Linked DNA regions of Homo sapiens: region 1 is linked to region 2. The links are contacts of gene promoters, found by promoter capture Hi-C in blood cells and fetal thymus (Javierre and others, 2016). All regions are on one chromosome and are shown on one strand. The core of a region is centred on a gene start or on the middle of the fragment in contact, and the rest is flanking DNA. Distances in the headings are between cores, read along the strand shown.

Region 1 (2,700 bases), core at 156-2,655, 260 kb after region 2:
GTCCACGTGGCCGAAAACAACCTTCCCGGAGCCTCCATCCCACAAGTCAGCGCCTCTGACCTGGACCTAGGGCTGAATGGCCAAGTCTCCTACTCCATCGTTACCACTGACTTGGAGCTGCGGGCACTGTCGTCCTACGTGTCCGTGAGCGCACAGAGCGGGGTGGTGGTCGCGCAGCGTGCCTTCGACCACGAGCAGCTGTGCGCCTTCGAGCTCACGATGCAGGCCCACGACCAGGGCTCGCCCGCGCTCAGCGCCAACATGAGCCGGCGCATGTTGGTGGGCGACCTCAATGACAATGTGCCGCGGGTGCTGTACCCCGCGCTGGGGCCCGATGGCTCCGCACTCTTCGATATAGTGCCACGCGCCGCAGAGTCCGGCTACCTGGTGACCAAGGTGGTGGCGGTGGACGCAGATTCGGGACACAACGCTTGGCTGTCCTACCACGTGCTGCAGGCCATCGAGCCCGGGCTTTTCAGCCTGGGGCTGCACACGGGAACCTGCTGGTTGCTGTGCGTGACGGAGGACAGCCGCCGCTCTCTGCGCCGCTACGCTTCACCTAGTCTTCGCAGACAGCCTGCAGGAGGCACTGCCAGACTTCAGTGACAGTCCTGTGCCCTCTGATTCCCAAGCAAAGCTGCAGATTTACCTGGTCGTGGCCTTGGCCTTGATTTCTATGCTCTTCTTCCTCGCAGTGATTTTGGCGGTCGCCTTGCACCTGCGATGCTCTTCCAGCCCCTCTGCCTGGGGTTGCTTTCACCCTGGTCTCTGTTCTAAGACTAGACCAGGGGTTTTTCCCAACTACAATGAGGGAACTTTGCTTTATTCCTGCAATCTGTATGTTCCCTCGGATTCTAGAAAAAGAAGATTTAATTTTCTCACCATGACACCAGAAACAGTCCCCCCACAAGATCTTTCTAATGAAGTTTCTCTGGTAGCAAGCTTCACTGAAGAGAATAACAAGATAAGCTCTAACTCTGTTGCTCCTACTCACGTGAGTTCCAATGAATGTCTTTCATTTACAAATGGATGAGGTTTAATTTTCAAACCAATATTTTGGCAAGAAAATCTTAAACATATTATATCTACTATTGCTTCAGGTTTGTTTGCCCACTCTTAATATTTCCTGTTCCTTTCTGTGTGGGCCAGTAACTTCATTATTAGCTTTCATGTATTTTTGAAACATTTTCACCATTTTTACGGGAGACTTTTTTTTTTTTTGGACGGAGTCTCGCTCTGTGGTCCAGGCTGGAGTGCAGTGGCATGATCTCGGCTCACTGCAAGCTCTGCCTTCCGGGTTCTGGCCATTCTCCCGCCTCAGCCTCCCGGGTAGCTGGGACTACAGGCGCCCGCCACCACGCCCGGCTAATTTTTTGCATTTTTAGTACAGACGGGGTTTCACCGTGTTAGCCAGGATGGTCTCGATTTCCTGACCTCGTGATCTGCCCGCCTCGGCCTCCCAAAGTGCTGGGATTATAGGCGTGAGCCACTGCACCCGGCCCGGAGACATTGTTTATACACACACACACACACACACACACACACACACACACGTGTGAAAAGTGGGTATTATGATACTGCTGTCATTGAGATATTTTAATTGAGGAATAAATTTTTTTCCTGTGATGTTTCTTGGGACATCAATATTTGAGTATATAAGGCTTTTTCTTTAATCCATTAACTATAAATTTTGAAGAAAATGCATGAGAAAATGGAGAAAATGTGTTTTTTTTTTAAAAAAAATTGAGATTAAGGTCTCATTATGTTGCCCAGGCTGGACTCAAACTCTTGGGCTACAGTAATCCTCCCACCTCAATCTCCAGAGTAGCTGAGACTACAGTTGCCTGAAACTGTGCCTGGCAGAGAAAAAAGCTTAAAAAAATAAGAACATGGTAATGATTTGATAATATTCAGTTACATTTACTTTTGATTCTTGTAATTCAAGTAAACTCAATTTTATGTCTGATATTTTCTCACAGCTACCTATATATTTCTTCCCAATTTAAAATATATTATTTTATTTTATGCCTAGCAAATATCTTTACAGTATAAATATTTACGCTCATGAAAGTACGTAGCCAGTTATTTCTTAGGGAGAATTTTTTCCCTATATTTTGATGGGCTTCCAAAAGTATTACCAGTAATTCTCAGTAATTACAATTAGGTCAGTTACCCAGGAAAAGGTAAGTCTGTAACATTCTTTGGACTACCAATTTTCTTTTACTAAGTTTCCTGAACAATAAATATTTTTGAAATATAATGTATTAATAGAATTCTGGAGTACTTCCATTATTTCCAGTCAATGCAAGTTGGAATGCTTCTACTTTATGCTAAAAATATTAATGTTTCTTTTTCACTTGGGTTCTTGTTAAGTGTGATTCTGATAATGTATACAATCACATATCATTTTTAGGTTTCCATAATATCATGAAAATTTGATTTTTAAGCGTTACATGTCAACAACCTGGTAAAGTAATCCTTCCATTCAGGATCATTCAAGGAATCTATTTAAAAATATTTTCCCCAAATTATAGCTGAATCAGAAAGTTTAAATTATTATATTATATGATTTGTCAAAAAGAGAAACTCCTAGGGAGACATCTCCATAATAGGTGTGTTGGGGGAACAGTAATCTCAAAGCAGATGCACTAACATTATAAGATTAAAATCATTGTTTATAGAAACTTCCAATTCATTTAA
Region 2 (2,700 bases), core at 81-2,580:
GGGATACAATTAAAGGTAAATAACGCAATGAAAACAATTCCAAGAAATTTGCAAACTAGATAAAATGATTTTCAAAATAAAATGCAAGTTACTTAAAAATACAAAACCTGAACAGATTAATAACCAAAGGTAAAATGTAAATGGTAGTCACTGATCTACTGCAAGTGAAGTCACCAAACCCAACCAGTTTAAAAGACAAGCTGGAATTAAGCATGTAGAAACATATAATAATATAATTATTAAAACTATTGTATAAAATAGATAAAAAGCTCCCTAACACATTCTATGATGCCAGTATAATAGTTTAATACCAAGGCCATAAAAGGCAAACACGCACTAGGTAAACAACATTAACTAGAAAAATCCTAAAACCATGTTGACACATCATATCTATCTGTGCACTAAAACAATAATACATTATGGTTAAATGTCATTTATATCAATAACTCAGTAATTTAGAAACTAAAGAATAAATGTATTATTTCAACAGCTATCAAAAATCACTTCAAAATATGAAAGAATAAAAAGAAAACTTTATTGATTCAAAAAAGGAATATTTACCCCAAATTGAGATCAACCATCATAGTTGAAGATGAAATGCTAGAAGCACTTCCACAAATGCAAGATTGACCAACTTGCTACTACTAATTTTAAGAGTATTCATTGGACATTGGAGATTCTAGTCACTGAAATTATAGAGGAACAATAATTTCTTATGTAATACTTAAATCAGGTGAAGGATGAAGGTTGGGTTTGGGGGAGGCATAAAGTGTTCCAAGAAATATCACAGGTAAAGAGTTAAGACCTGGAAAGTGGAATAATTGTTTAATTCACAAGAAATTGGGAAAAGGGTCAATTATTCTGCCATATTCACATTATTATTGTTAAATACTTTACAAATAAATAAAATGTCCCCAACCAATATTTGTTGACTTCAAGGAGGAGGTTTCATTTTCTCATATATATTTTTACTATCCATTTTTAAAATAGGAGATTTTCTTAGGATTTCGGTGGGGAGTCAGAGTTTAGTTTCATGCTCCTAGATTTAAGAAGACTATAAATTAATTCTTCTACGAATCCAGATTATCACAGGGGAAAACGACATCAGCTATTACTTACTAGCATTACTGTGACCATTTGAGGATAAAGATGGAATGAAACAGCAAAGATACCGGGGACAAATCATTCTTGTTGCAGAATTCCTTCAATCCGCCATCTTTTTGTTCTAGTCTTGATAACGGGAATAACATCCACAAAACGCAAGGTGGCGCTGCTGGCTAAAAAGAGAGAGAGAAAAATAATTTCACAAAGAAAGGATGTTACAGATTCCAGAGCAAAGAGGCAATCTGAAGAGAAAAGCATAGGAAAGGAAACAGTGGTAATAGGAATTGGGGTAAAATGAGGATCCTTCCCCACAAACATTGCTATTATTCAGCTCATTTCAAAGGATTCCGCTGCTGCCATTTGTGAGAGCCGCTGGAGGCTGAGTGAAAGTCATTTTGAAAGACTGATCCAAAGAAGAATGGAGGCCAGAGTGGAGCGTGCTGTGCAGAAAAGGCAAGTCTTATTTCTTTGTGTATTTCTGGGAATGTCTTGGGCTGGCGCCGAACCGCTTCGGTATTTTGTGGCGGAGGAAACCGAGAGAGGCACCTTTCTTACCAACTTGGCAAAAGACCTAGGGTTAGGGGTAGGGGAACTGAGAGCCCGGGGAACTAGAATTGTTTCAGACCAGAACATGCAAATTTTACTGCTCAGTTCGCTTACTGGTGATCTACTTCTAAATGAGAAATTGGACCGAGAGGAACTGTGTGGCCCCAGAGAGCCCTGTGTGCTGCCTTTCCAGTTGTTATTGGAAAAACCTTTTCAGATTTTCCGTGCTGAACTATGGGTCAGAGACATCAATGATCACGCTCCAGTATTTCTAGACAGAGAGATTTCCTTGAAAATATTAGAAAGTACCACTCCAGGGGCGGCATTTCTCCTAGAGAGTGCACAGGATTCAGATGTTGGAACCAACAGCCTGAGTAACTACACCATCAGCCCCAATGCCTATTTCCATATTAATGTCCATGATAGCGGGGAGGGGAATATCTATCCCGAATTGGTGCTGAATCAAGTGCTGGATCGGGAAGAGATACCAGAGTTCAGTTTAACCCTCACCGCTTTAGACGGCGGCTCTCCTCCAAGATCAGGGACCGCCCTCGTGCGCATTCTGGTTCTAGACGTAAATGACAACGCCCCTGATTTTGTGCGGTCGCTCTACAAGGTGCAGGTGCCCGAAAATAGCCCCGTTGGTTCCATGGTTGTCTCCGTGTCAGCCAGAGATTTAGATACCGGAAGTAATGGGGAAATAGCCTATGCATTTTCTTACGCCACTGAAAGAATTCTCAAAACGTTTCAAATCAATCCAACATCTGGCAGTCTTCATCTTAAAGCGCAATTGGACTATGAGGCAATTCAAACTTACACATTAACTATTCAGGCCAAAGACGGCGGCGGGCTTTCTGGAAAATGCACTGTAGTGGTTGATGTAACAGATATAAACGATAATCGACCCGAGCTGCTCCTGTCTTCACTTACTAGCCCAATTGCAGAAAACTCACCCGAGACAGTCGTGGCTGTTTTTAGGATTAGAGACAGAGATTCCGGGAACAATGGAAAGACAGTGTGCTCCATCCAGGACGATGTCCCCTTCATCCT

Evidence for each region. Contacts are between HindIII fragments. The CHiCAGO score rates a contact against its expected background, and 5 or more counts as called.
Region 1: a contact is called between a fragment that was not itself captured here and the fragment with the promoter of PCDHB7 in region 2, in 2 of 17 cell types (endothelial precursors and fetal thymus). The highest score is 5.7, in endothelial precursors.

The regions. Positions count from the first base shown.
Region 1 is chr5:141,427,653-141,430,352 of GRCh38, forward strand. All of the region lies in intron 1 of PCDHGA1 (protocadherin gamma subfamily A, 1), which reads left to right. All of the region lies in intron 1 of PCDHGA2 (protocadherin gamma subfamily A, 2), which reads left to right. The region is part of intron 1 of PCDHGA3 (protocadherin gamma subfamily A, 3); the gene reads left to right. All of the region lies in intron 1 of PCDHGB1 (protocadherin gamma subfamily B, 1), which reads left to right. It also overlaps PCDHGA4, PCDHGB2, PCDHGA5, PCDHGB3, PCDHGA6 and PCDHGA7, and 10 more genes. Among named protein-coding and RNA genes, the nearest start is that of PCDHGA12, 1.5 kb to the right of the region's middle. The HindIII fragment of the contact is 930 bases long and covers 941-1,870 here.
Region 2 is chr5:141,171,314-141,174,013 of GRCh38, forward strand. PCDHB7 (protocadherin beta 7) reads left to right here and starts at 1,331. Exons shown (of 1, transcript NM_018940.4): 1 at 1,331-2,700. The coding sequence starts at 1,523. It also overlaps PCDHB@. The HindIII fragment of the contact is 10,030 bases long and covers 1-2,700 here.